2 separate regions of the Homo sapiens genome follow, and region 1 is linked to region 2. Evidence: promoter capture Hi-C in 16 types of primary human blood cells and fetal thymus (Javierre and others, 2016). All regions are on one chromosome and are shown on one strand. Each heading gives the region's core, a stretch centred on a gene start or on the middle of the fragment in contact. The rest is flanking DNA. Distances are from core to core; before and after follow the strand shown. Region 1 overlaps PCGF3 (polycomb group ring finger 3). Region 2 holds the start of IDUA (alpha-L-iduronidase).

Region 1 (6,330 bases), core at 268-2,767, 220 kb before region 2:
GGAGATTCAAGGTGAGACACGTGATTTGATTTTCAGAGTCTGCTCTGAATGGCAGTGACTTTGCTGTGCATCTCTTATCTAAAATGTTAAATGACTCCAGCTGGGTGCAGTGGCTCATGCCTGTAATCCCAGCACTTTGGGAGGACGAGGCGGGCGGATCACGAGGTCAGGAGATCCAGACAATCCTGGCTAACATGGTGAAACCCAATCTCTACTAAAAATACAAAAAATTAGCCAGGCGTAGTGGTGGGCACCTGTAGTCTCAGCTACTCAGGAGGCTGAGGCAGGAGAATGGTGTGAACCCGGGAGACGAAGCTTGCAGTGAGCCAAGATCGTGCCACTGCACTCCAACCTAGGCGACAGAGGGAGACTCTGTCTCAAAAAAAAAAAAAAAGTGATGACTCAGCTACAGAAATTGTTGTGAAACACAGTTCTGGTCTTTCTGAAATCATCAACCCCAGAGCCAGCTTGGAAGGTGCCAGCTGAGCTGCGAAGGGCACAGGCCCTGGTGGGAAAGTGCTGAGGCCATGAGTGCCATGAGCAGAGGGTCCCCTGGGGCCTTTGGGCCCCTCTGAAGCAGGAAACCAATGGTGGAACTCTCCCACCTCAGCTGGTGTTGCTGCCTGGGGAGAGGGGGAGGAGCCAAGGCTGGCCTGGGGCTGGGCCAGAGGGTTTGAGGGAGAAGGGGGCAGGGGAGTGGCAGCCAGGGCCACATCAGGTACAGGTGGCCACCACGGTGTGCACAGTGGTCACTGGGTCACCTGGGGCCAGGGGAGAGGGCACATGTCTTCCTAGCCCGTCTTCCCCCAGCAACTTCTGGGGGACCCTTCTGTTGCTCAGAACAGAAGGGTCTCTGTGCAGCCCTGCATGTGGACTGTGCCTCACGGGACGTGATTCCTCAGCACCCTTCCCGATGAAGTAGGTCCTTCTCGCCTCCACCCCTGCTAAGCAGGCACTGTGCGTTCTTGTGTCTTCCAGAAGGCGCCGCTCCTGCTGCACTACAGACCCAAGATGGACTTGCTGTGAATGGTGCCACACAGCGCCCACAGACTGGGCCCTCGCACCCTTGGGTGCTCCCGGCCGCCGCGCTTAAGAACATTGCCTCTGGGTGTCATGTGGACCAGACTTCTGAATAGAGAATATTTATAACTTTTGTATGAGAGAGAATTCACACTCAACAAGACACTACCAGCACCACGTTTACAGAGGATGAAAACACTTCACAGTCTCCCAGAGCCGATCGTCCTCTCCCCCGCCCCACCCCGTGCTTCAGCCTTGCAGGGAGAGTGATGCTCCAGGCAACACGGTTCTGAGTCACCTTCTGACACGAGCTCCCTCTGCTTGCTTTCCAGGTCTTGAAAATCTGAATTCACTTCAGTTTAGTTTATGAATTTTAGGTTTCATGATAAGCCTCAAGTGTAGTTGGACTTTTATTGAATCCTTCCTAAGTTATTGAAAAAATGTCTTTTCATGGTGAATGACAATATTTATGTTGCCTTTAGCTTCTTGAAGATTTAGAAGTTATATAAAAAATTAATTTAAAAGCAAACCAAAAGAGGTTTCCATTAACATTATGATTTAACCATTGTATTTAATTTCCCACCTTATGAAACACAACAGCAGCTCCCTGACTGGTTCGCCTTTCATTGTGTGAGGTCGGCACTTGGACTCACTCAGAACTGTCGCTCACCTGTGGCTGACACACCCAGCCCTGGAAACGGGGCCCCAGACGCCACGTCGGGATTTCTGACATGCTCAGCAGGTAGACCAGAGGCCGTGTGACCAGCTCAGTGCTGGTTTACGGAACAACTCTTACTTTTAAAAATTACTTGTTCCCCCAAATTGTTGAGTGCCGCCGTTTGGTTTCCTATGTTTTCTTTCCCTGTTTTGATTTTGCTGAAGGGAGAGGTGGTGGTGGTTAGGATCAGAGCTCTCCTGGCATCCGTGGGGAGGATTTGCTGGTGGTGGCTTCGGGCTCATGCCCAGACACACTCACTGCCCCGTCTGTCCAAGGCCTCCCCTTCCCCTTTGCTGGTGGGAGGAGCTCGTGTGCTCCTTGGCCGCTTACTGGAAGGGCGTTTTTCAGAGCTGCAGGGACAGGGTGAGCAGCTGAAGGGCTAGGAGGGAAGCCGGCCCCCGCTCTGCAGAAGCTGCATTTCAGCTGAATCTGTGTTTCAGCCTCAGTTGGTTGCACCGTTAGCCCCTCTCCTCCCGGATGGTCATGTTTTTGTCACATTAGAGAATAAACAGCCACACACACATTTTTTTTTTTCCTTTAAAACAGTAACTTGGAAATATGAAAAGGCCAGAAGGAGGAGCAAGGGCTGTTTTCTGGAGTGGTTGAGGTGTTGTCCTGCAGTTGTCATTGTCTTCTCCACCGGGCTGTTCCCATTTATTTCCTGTGGAACTGAATCCCTCCTCCCTCCACTCCTTGGGAGCCCAGGTGGTCCTTGGCCACCATTCAGGCTTTCCAAGAAGCCAACCACCTTGGAGATTTTTTTTCTTGAATTTCGCTGTTTTCTTCTGCTTCCTTTAGATAAAAAGCAGCTCAAGAGACCTTATCTTAGGGATGAGAAAAACATGCATATTAATTCCATCTGAGTGATTGTCAGTGTAAGGCCTTTTAAAACAAAAGCAAGTTCTTTGTTAGGAATTGGTCAAAATTCATCTCTTTCTTTAAGCCCATCAACTCCCAGGACGGTTTGAGTTACTCAGTTACCTAAGCTTGCTATTCATCCAAATCATTTTCTAGAGTCACTGTATAAGGGTCTATGAGTAGCTGTGTATGAATAAATATTACCTGTCTACCTCAAAATACACATACTGCTGAAGCATTCTGTACAACCGTGTGTTATCACAGTGCAGTTTTAAGTGTAACGTTAGAACTTAGGCATTTTCCTGTGTGGCGGAATAAGAAAGGATTAAACAGTTACAAGCCTCCAAATTCAAATAAAATTAAATCACAGTTCAGATGAAACTGAATATCATTGTAATAATCTCATAATATATATTTGTAACTTTGTAGCTATCTTTGAAATCACTTGACTTTGCAATGGTGCTAAGCTGATAGATTTAAATACACAGACGGGCGAGTGGCGCCCGTGTCGATGTCTTCAGCCAGTGGTGACCCTGCTTTTGTAACCGCGTTAACCTGACAAAACCTCAGCAGCAGAAGTCCCTATTTTTCTAGGAGTTCATCGTGCAGACAGTCTTCACTACAGGACTCGGCCCTGGGGCCTCTGCCTCTCGTCTGACCTTGCAGCCTTAGTCGTTGGAGGCTGGAGCGCAATGGCCCTGCCGTCTGTGGAGCCTCTGGGCGGCCTTCTTTCCTTTCTGTCAACCTCTCATTTCACAGAAAAAGGCTGAATTTCATTTTTTCCAGCATGAAAGCCAGGATCGGTTAGTGGTTGGATTCTATTGGTTTTTTTTTTTTAAACAGATGGAGTTACTGTGAAGAAGTTTTCACAACTATTTATGCTGGTAAAACAAATGCTGTTAAATCACCTTATGCGTCGTTTTCAACAGCAGTGGGGCTAATTACCCGGAATACGGTCTCACCGATGCAGTTTTCATGGACATAGAAAATTCAAATAGAATATATAATATTGAATTTAAGATTTGGGGGGTTAAAAAAGAAAACTTAACTTTATAAAATTATTTATTCTATTTTAAGCCTTCTATCATATTTTCCCATCCAATTGTTTGGTTTCAGTGGTCCAGCTTTATTTACAGGCATATAAAATGAAATTGTGAGATGTTTTGCAAGCTTCTTTTTACTTTGAGTAGCTTTTAATTTGTATGTTTTTATGTGGATGAAGAGCATTTTTTATGCTTTTGTGCAATAGGTTCCAATATGCATTTATTAGACATCTGTTTAAATGGTAATGTAGCATTTATTTTGCTAAATTGAAAGGGAACATAGATGGAATTCCAAAATATGTACATTCAGCTGTTTGGTTTTTCGTTTTTCATTGTTATTATTGTGAGAATGCTGTTATTGGGGTTGTGTGTGAGTGCCCGTCAGCCAGTGATGCCTCGGGCCACGCTGTGGGGCCACCTCAGTCCTGCCTGGGTCCTGGTGCCTTGGACCCCACGTGCTTGTGGCCAGGCTGCCCCTGGGCAGGGCCATGTGGCCTCAGACCACAAGAGCGGAGCTGCCCTGGCCCAAGCACTGCAGCTGCCTGCACCCCCGGGCTTCGCAGCCTTGCTTGTTTTCTCTGAACAGCAACAGAACAGTGTTCACAGCGATTCAAAGGGTGGCATTGGGTTGGACGTTCTGGGTACAAGCCAACCTAGTCCCACGTTGTACGTGAATGTTTAATGTGCTCTCAAAACATGGAAAATAAGTTTAGTGCACATAGCTAAATCACAAAACATCCAATTTCTCTGTTTCCTCAGGAAGTCATTACTGCGCCACCACATCACATGACCTTAACATGATCAATGTATTTCTCTGCCTTGACATTTAAATACATAAATTGAGATAAGTAGATTAGAAAATCATTCAAATGATACCATAATTTGTACGGGACAGGGTGCGGGCAATGGCCACGTGGCCAAGGCCCTGCAGGAACGCGCCGAGGTCTCCCTCACCCTCCAGGTGTCCTTCGCACCCAACAGTGCGTCTGAGGAACGAGCTGCAGTTTGAGCGTTCCCCTGAGATGTGCGTAGCCTCCGTGTAAATGTCCACTCCCATGGCTTAATTGCCTATCAGACGCATTTTCCCAGACGAAAGCAATGTTGGGTTGGGGAAGACAGTGCAGCCACCCAGCCTTTACCAGCAGCGTACGGCAGACGAAGGCAGTCGAGGTGTGGAGGTGATCACGAAGATACATGTGTTTGACTGTTTAATTTGAAAGTTTACATTTTTTATGCTTTGTGTTGGTGTGTAATTTTTGTACTCTTGGTGGCTAGTTTTTGTCAAATCTTTTTTGGAATATTGCTTAAATGTTTTGATTTTATGATAGTGAAGCTTGTATTCAGTGTTTTGCCAATTAATATTATATGCTTGTAATAAAAGCAAAAGAAAAGCTTAAGTGAAAGTGTTTCTGGCTGGAAATGTATTACATAAATCATTTGTATGAGCATGAGAGATGACTTGCTCATGGGATGAGCAATGCTGTGGGTATTGGATGGACCACTCAGGCAGCCTGGCCGCACACACACACATGCATGCTACATATGTGTACGCTCAGACCACATGCCTGCACATATGTCCACACACCAGCCCACGGCTCCCTTCCTCACCCCAGCCCTCCCCACTCCCAGGTTAACCAATGTCTCGATTTGCTTCAGGCGGCATTTGTAAACTGTCACCCTGCTTGCAAACCCTCATTTAAATTGGTCCAGCATTTGCTACCAGAGTTTAGGCCACAAACTTTGTAAAGCTCAGTTTGTCTCCTTGCAGAAAGAGGTTGCTGCAGTTTGGAGCTGGTTATGCCAAGGAAAATACGGCTAAAAAAGAACTTACTGATTCCCATAGGTGTGTCAACTGACAAATGAATGTTCCATCTCCCTACGACAATTTGCTGCCCCTCCCCAAAAAAAGCACTATGGCCAAAATTTCAGTTTTTAAAGGTTAAGTAAAATACAACAATTCTGAAACTCTTAAGAGAACCAGAATTGGAAGGAAAGGAGAATGGCCAAAATTATATTCTCACAACCTAAAGCAGTAAACTTTAAAAATAGGTTCAGTCTTAGACTTGACTTAATTGACTTAGGCTGGGCATAGTGGCTCACACCTGTAATTCCAGCACCGTAGGAGGCCAAGGCAGGCTGATCATCTGAAGTCGGGAGTTCGAGACCAGCCTGGCTAACATGGTGAAATCCCGTCTCTACTAAAAAATATAAAAATTAGCCGGGTGTGGTGGCAGGGGCCTGTAGTCCCAGCTACTCAGGAGGCTGAAGCAGGCGAATCGCTGGAACACAAGAGGCAGAGGTTGCAGTGAGCCGAGATCACGCCACTGTACTCCAGCCTGTGCTACAGAGCAAGACTCCATCTCAATTTAAAAAAAAAAAAAAAAAAAAAAAAAAAAGGACTTGGCGGGGTGCAGTGGTTCATGCCTGTAATCCCAGCACTTTGGAAGCTGAGGCGGGTGGATCACAAGGTCAAGAGATCGAGACCATCCTGGCCAGCATGGTGAAACCCCATGTCTACTAAAAATACGAAAATTAGCCAGGCCTGATGGCACGCACCTGTAGTCCCAGCTACTCAGGAGACTGAGGCAGGAGAATCACTTGAACCCGGGAGGCAGAGGTTGCAGTGAGCCGAGATCGCACCACTGCACTCCAGCCTGGGCGACAGAGCGAGACTCCATCTCAAAAAAAAAA
Region 2 (6,243 bases), core at 2,571-5,070:
AATGTCACCCAGAGTGAAGGCCTTGGAAGCCAGGCCTTCTCCTGCCTCCTGTCTCTGGCCCCTCATTGTCCCAGGCAGGTCGTAGAAACCTAAGCCCCTTTTCCCCAAAGCCAGCCATAAACCTAAAAGTATGACTCTAATAACTTTTCTCTGTCTTTCTGTGTAAAAACTGGCCATAAAGGAATTCTCTGGCCTGCCTTGTTTGACTGTATGTGGTCAGACCCCTATTCCGGGGCGTTGTGCCCCCACCCAGCAGGAGGGAGAGCTGCAGAGAGAGGCCTCCAGGAACCGAAGCAGATGGGCCTCGCTGGGCTCCCCCAGGAGTCTGTTAGCCTGTCAGGTCTTAACCTTTCGTCCAATCCTATTTCCAGATTCACAGAACCTGAGTATAAAAATGTGGTTTCCCCTGCGCCTTTAGGTCTTTGCTCTGAAAGCTGCTGTGTCACATAAAACTACAATCCAAGAAATCTGTGTACCCTTTTAGTGAAACTTCAGAAAGGCAGGGGAGGTTTTCCCTTCCCCCCGCACTCTTCACTTCTTCCTCTGCACCTCTGAGCTGGGATTTGGGACATCATTCTTTCTACTTGAAGAACACCATTTAATTTTGTCTTTTCTTTTTGAAACAGGGTCTCACTCTGTTGCCCAGGCTGGAGTGCAGTGACGTGATCTTGGTTCACTGCAGCCTCTGCCTCCCAGGTTAAAGCAATTCTCCTGCCTCAGCCTCCTGAGTAGCTGGGATTACAGACGCATGCCACCACGCCCGGCTAATTTTTGTATTTTTGGTAGAGACAGGGTTTCACCATGTTGGCCAGGCTGGTCTCGAACTCCTGACCTCAGGTGATCTGCCCGCCTCAGCCTCCCAAAGTGCTGGGATTACAGGCATGAGCCACCTTGCTCAGCCTAGTTGGATTTAATTTGCTGTTAAACCAATTCGTTATCAGCTTTACTGAGATATGATTTACATACAATAAAATGAAGCAAGTTCAAGTGTATCATTCAATAAATTTTTACTAAGTTTCATGAGGTTTTAATATTTTTTTCAATGTTTTCATTTTGAAAAATTTCAAACTCACAGAAAAGTTGCAATAACAGTATATAGTTTTCACCCAGGTTCACCAACTGTTAATATTTTGCTACCTTTGCTTTTATCTCAGTCTCTGTATGTAATCTAAATTTATTGTTTTGCTTTAATTTCCAGAGCAACTTTGGTTACAAATCTATTGATTCTTCACCTCTAAACCCTTCAGCATGGATCACAAATGAACAAAAAATCTCCATTCACAACCGTGATGCAATCATTGAGTCGTTTAATAATTCTGGAGTTTGACCCAGCGCGGTGGCTCATGCCTATAATCCCAGCACTTTGGGAGGCCGAGACAGGTGGATCATTCGAGGTCAGGAGGTCGAGACCAGCCTGGCCAGGATGGTAAAACGCTGTCTCTACTGAAAATACAAAAATTGGCTGGGCGTGGTGGCTCATGCCTGTAATCCCAGCTACTCAGGAGGCTGAGGCAGAGGTTGCAATGAGCTGAGATCGCACCACTGCACTCCAGCCTGGACAACAGAGTGAGACTTCGTTTAAAAAAACAAAAAACAAAAACAAAAAAAATTCTGGAGTTTATCATTGGTAGAATTTTGTTGCACAATGTACAAGGCATATTCCAAATTGTGAATGTCCCCATCATGCACTTTGTAATAATTTTTCCTGACCCGGATCCATTCCAGCACCGTGCAGTGAGGACTTCTGTCTGTTTTTGTTTTGTTTTACCTTCCTCCAGGGAAGGTGTACTTTTCTGTCCACAGGTGTCCCGGTGAGCGGCTCACCTTAATTCTCTCAGGGCTTGAGGTGATTTAAGGCTGGCTTCAGTCCCCACAAAGACAATTCTGTTGCTGGTTTACCTTTGCTTTTAGGGGATAGAACTTTGGGGTCCCAAGAAAAACCCAAAGTCTTTACCAGGCCCCCCGCCTGAGCCTCGACTTCTGTCCTGTGGCCACAGTGTGAGGAACGAACGCAGCAGCGTGTCGCCATGTCTTGTGTGGCTGGGATACGCTGCAGGGGTGTGGAGTCGCCGCCCCAAAGCGGGCCCCGCCCCCTCCCGGCTTGTCCCTGCAGAGCCCCGAGGCCTCAGAGGCTCCTCAGAGCTCCCAGTGCCCTGGACGGTTCCGTTCAGCGCTCTCCAGTTCTGATGGTTGCTCTCAGGAGGCGGCTGGTCTGAAACAATTCAGTTTCCATTGCTGTGTCCTGCACCACGGTGTGGGACTGGTGGTTTCTTACTGTTTTTCTCAGTTCTCTGACGCTTTGAGGAATTGTTTTTAAAGCGAGTTATCCATCATTTTAGTTGTTTTCTCTGGGGTCGTTGGACTGAGGGTCTTACCCCGCTGTTCCTGGAGACAGTTCTGTACTTGCATGGTTTCTCTCGCCTTTCCCTCCCTTTCTTACTTTTTAGTTTCTTAATGAATTTTTTTGTATTATGTTTTTCCTCCTTGCTAATTTGGAATATATACACACTATTTCACTTTTAAATGGCTAATCACTTTTAATGCAATTTCAACATAAGAAGACCTAATGTTAAGCAATATTTTAACCCCTCTCCCCAAAATAAAAAGACCCAGAACACTGTAACTCTAATTATCCTTCTCCCAACTTAGAGAGGATTATTGTCCAGTATTTTCGTTTTGTTAGTAGACTGTTCTTTTTTTCTTTTCTTTTTTTAGAGATGGGGTCTCATTTTGTCAACCAGGCTGGAATGTAGTGGTGTGATCATGGCCCGTCTCAGCCTTGAACTCCTAAGCTCAAGCAATCTCCCACCTCAATTTCGTGGGTAGCTGGGCCTCACAGGCATATACCATCGCATCTGGCTAAATTTTTTTTTTGTACAGATGGGGTCTTGGTACATCTCCCAGGCCGATTTCAAACTCCAGGCCTCAAGTGATCCTCCCGTGTTGGCCTGCAATTCCAAAGTGCTGGGATTGCAGGTGTGAGCCACCGCACCAAGCCTGTTCTTTCCATTATTATTTTTATACAATGTTTGCTTGGATTCACACATGCATACATGGACTACACATGTACTACAGTTGTCCCATGGTATCCTCGGGGTATTGGTTCCAGGACCCTCCCAGATACCAAAATTTGCAGGTGCTCAAGTACTTGATATAAAATGGCACAGTATTTGCACATTACCTACGCACATCCTACTGTGTAGTTTAAATCAAGATTACTTATAGTCCCTAAAACAATGTAAATGCTCTGTAAATAGCTGTTATACTGTATTGTTTTAAAATATGTATTATTTCGTATTGCTTTGGCTTTAAAACAATATTTTCAGTCTGCTTGGTTGAATCCATGGATCTGAAGCCAAGTGTAAGGAGGGCCCAGTGTGCTCTTCTGGGGTAATTCTCCTTCCTGCTAAAGCGCACGCTTTACTCAGGAGGCTGGGGTGAGAAAATCGCTGAAGCCCCGGAGATGGAGGTTGCAGTGAGCTGAGATCGCGCCACTGCACCTCAGCCTGGGCGACAAAGCAAGACTCTGTCTCAAAAACACACAAAAACAGAGAAAAACAAGACAGTAATGGCTCAACTCACATAGCACCAACGGGCGAAGCGTTCTTCTGAGCGCTTTCCGAGTCATCGGTCCTCAGAGCAGCCCCTGAGGCCCGCAAGGAAGCGGGGCTCCAAGCCCTGCCGTGCTCCCGGCTCCCCGAGGCTCCCCGAGGCCACCCAACCCCTCCCACCCGGCCATCGCCCCCTCACCAAGGCCCCGCCCCGCGGCGGCGGTCACATGGGGTGCGCGCCCAGACTCCGACCCGGAGGCGGAACCGGCAGTGCAGCCCGAAGCCCCGCAGTCCCCGAGCACGCGTGGCCATGCGTCCCCTGCGCCCCCGCGCCGCGCTGCTGGCGCTCCTGGCCTCGCTCCTGGCCGCGCCCCCGGTGGCCCCGGCCGAGGCCCCGCACCTGGTGCATGTGGACGCGGCCCGCGCGCTGTGGCCCCTGCGGCGCTTCTGGAGGAGCACAGGCTTCTGGTGAGCGCTCCGCGGCCTCCGGGACCCCCTGGCCGCACGGGGAGAGCTCGGGCGCCCCCTGACTGCGCACTGTGAGAGCTTCAGAGACCGGAGCTCCCTCCTCTGGGGCCCTGGCTCTCCCGGGCCCGCCCCCCGCCGTGTTTGTGGGTGGGTCCTCCACCTGAGTGGGCGCCGGGGCGTGAGCCTGGGCCGCCCCCTGCAGCCCAGGCCGATGCCCGGGATCCTGCTCTTTGAGGTAAACCAGGAGTCTCCCCTGGGAGTGGACGGCCCTGCAGCGGGACCTGGCCTGCCTGTCCCATTCCTTCCACCTAGAGCTGAGGTACCCGCCTTCCTGGCAGGGCCAGGGCCAGGGCTGGCGTTGGCCCCTCGTCTTACTGCTGCTGCCGTTCCCCATGAAGATGGGACCTCCCCACATTCCTGGCCCTAAGGGTCATTTTATTAGTCACTGAACGCACGGGCAGCGCCTGGATCCTGCGCCCGGGCAGTCCTGGGCTTGAACGTGTGTGTCAGCCGCGCTGCCAGCCATGCTGAGGCTCGGGACTGAGCCGCCCCTTTGTTGTCCCCAGCCCCCCGCTGCCACACAGCCAGGCTGACCAGTACGTCCTCAGCTGGGACCAGCAGCTCAACCTCGCCTATGTGGGCGCCGTCCCTCACCGCGGCATCAAGCAGGTCCGGACCCACTGGCTGCTGGAGCTTGTCACCACCAGGTGGGCGGCGGGCAGGGTCTGGGCGTCCCAGAGCCCCTTACAGAGGCACAGATGGGAGGGGAGGGCTGGGGGCTGCTCGGAAGACCCCTTGTTCCCCCACCTCCCGCCGAAGCACCCTGTTGGGGAGAGCGTGTCCTTGCTGGCTGTGCTGGGGTGAGGGCTGTGTGCTGGAGGGAGCCCCTGCATGGGGCACGGTGGGCTTCCTGCAGGTCTCCCTGCAGGCTCAGGGTTGGCTGCGCCGCACCTGGCTCCTGGTGCACCCGTGAGCATCCCTGTGTGTGTCTGCTGGCCAGGCTGGGTAGGGCCACTGCACCTGAGGGCTGAGCTGAGGTCTCATCGGTCACAGCACCCTGGGCCCTGACGCTGGTGCAGGTGGCCACCCTGTGAGGGGGAGGCACGAGGTGTGAGGGGCACTTGGGTGTGTGGGGCCTTCTGGAAACACAGAGACCCTCGTGCACTTGGCCAGAGCCGCTGGCTCCTACCAGCAGGGTGGGCACCGGGCAGGCCTGGGCATAGGGAGTCCTCTTGGCACCTTGGAGGCTGCATGATGGCGGGGGACCCTTGTTCAAATAAGATGTCAACCCTGAGCGTCAGGTCAGGCCCATCCCTCCTGAGCTGAGGGACGGTGCATTGGGGCCCAGCCAGCACTGTGGGCCAGCCTGTCTCGGAGGCAGAGGTTCTTGATTTCTGAGTGTTTGGGTCCTGCGTGTGATCAGAGGGCCTCCTTTCCCAGTTGGGGTTCCCCGGTTTCCCCAGGGCAGCTGTGGCACAAGAGTGCAGCTCTTGGGTGGCTCCTCCCTGGGAAGGGTCTCAGCAGTGGCTTGCAGACGTCTGCTGTGGGTCCCCAGGAGGGAGCAGAGGCTGCTGGGCAGGCCTGGCCCTGCTACAGATGGGCATCGGTGGCCTCCAGCTCCCTGTGGCGGGCTCGTGCTGTCTGCACGGCATCGTGCACACTGAGGAACAGCTGCTCCTCCTCAGCCGTGTCCCCGGGGCCCTCCCCGAGGAAGCCTCCTCTGCTCAGAATGTCTCTCACAGGCGGGCTGCAGCAGGCTAGCAGCAGGCTGATGCCCAGGGCCCCGTAGTCTCGGCGCAGGTCCTGCAGCGTGCTCACACCGGCTGCGTCTAGGAACAGCAGCGGGGCGCAGTCGATGACCACTGTGTGGAAGCCGGCCGCTGCGGGCACCAGCGCAGCCCTGGTGCTAACCGGGCCCAGGTCCTCGCCCTGGGCAGGGCCTCCCTCACCGACCCCCGTCTCTGAGCCCCCCTCCTTCCTCCTGGCAGCCATGCACCCTGCGTCCAGCCCCGTGAGGCTGTAGAGTGACTGCAGGAAGAAGTCCTTGTTGGCATAGTACAGCGGCCCCCCAAAGCGGAACACCCGCACGCCGGGCTCAGGGACGAGGCCCTCGAACTCTGTGGCATCCTCGTAGAAGGCCGTGTCCCCGATGCGGGCCAGCAGGGCGGTGCGTGGGCGTTGGGTGCGGCCGGCCAGGCTGAGCAGCGAGAGGATGACGCCAGCC

The links. The method cuts DNA at HindIII sites, captures the fragments that hold promoters and counts their contacts. A CHiCAGO score of 5 or more calls a contact.
Region 1: a contact is called between a fragment that was not itself captured here and the fragment with the promoter of IDUA in region 2, in 1 of 17 cell types (total B cells). The highest score is 5.1, in total B cells.

What each region holds. Positions count from the first base shown.
Region 1 is chr4:765,054-771,383 of GRCh38, forward strand. PCGF3 (polycomb group ring finger 3) reads left to right here. Exons shown (of 11, transcript NM_006315.7): 10 at 1-11; 11 at 979-5,036. The coding sequence ends at 1,026. The region is part of intron 1 of LOC124900163 (chloride intracellular channel protein 6-like); the gene reads right to left. The region is part of intron 1 of PCGF3-AS1 (PCGF3 antisense RNA 1); the gene reads right to left. Among named protein-coding and RNA genes, the nearest start is that of PCGF3-AS1, 14 kb to the right of the region's middle. RefSeq lists enhancers at 294-841, 931-990, 3,694-4,635. The HindIII fragment of the contact is 2,409 bases long and covers 314-2,722 here.
Region 2 is chr4:983,224-989,466 of GRCh38, forward strand. IDUA (alpha-L-iduronidase) reads left to right here and starts at 3,821. Exons shown (of 14, transcript NM_000203.5): 1 at 3,821-4,019; 2 at 4,586-4,726. The coding sequence starts at 3,862. It overlaps SLC26A1 (solute carrier family 26 member 1), which reads right to left. Exons shown (of 3, transcript NM_022042.4): 3 at 4,434-6,243. The coding sequence ends at 5,610. RefSeq lists enhancers at 2,183-2,232, 3,408-3,467, 6,048-6,243 and silencers at 3,678-4,327, 4,110-4,287. The HindIII fragment of the contact is 17,691 bases long and covers 1-6,243 here.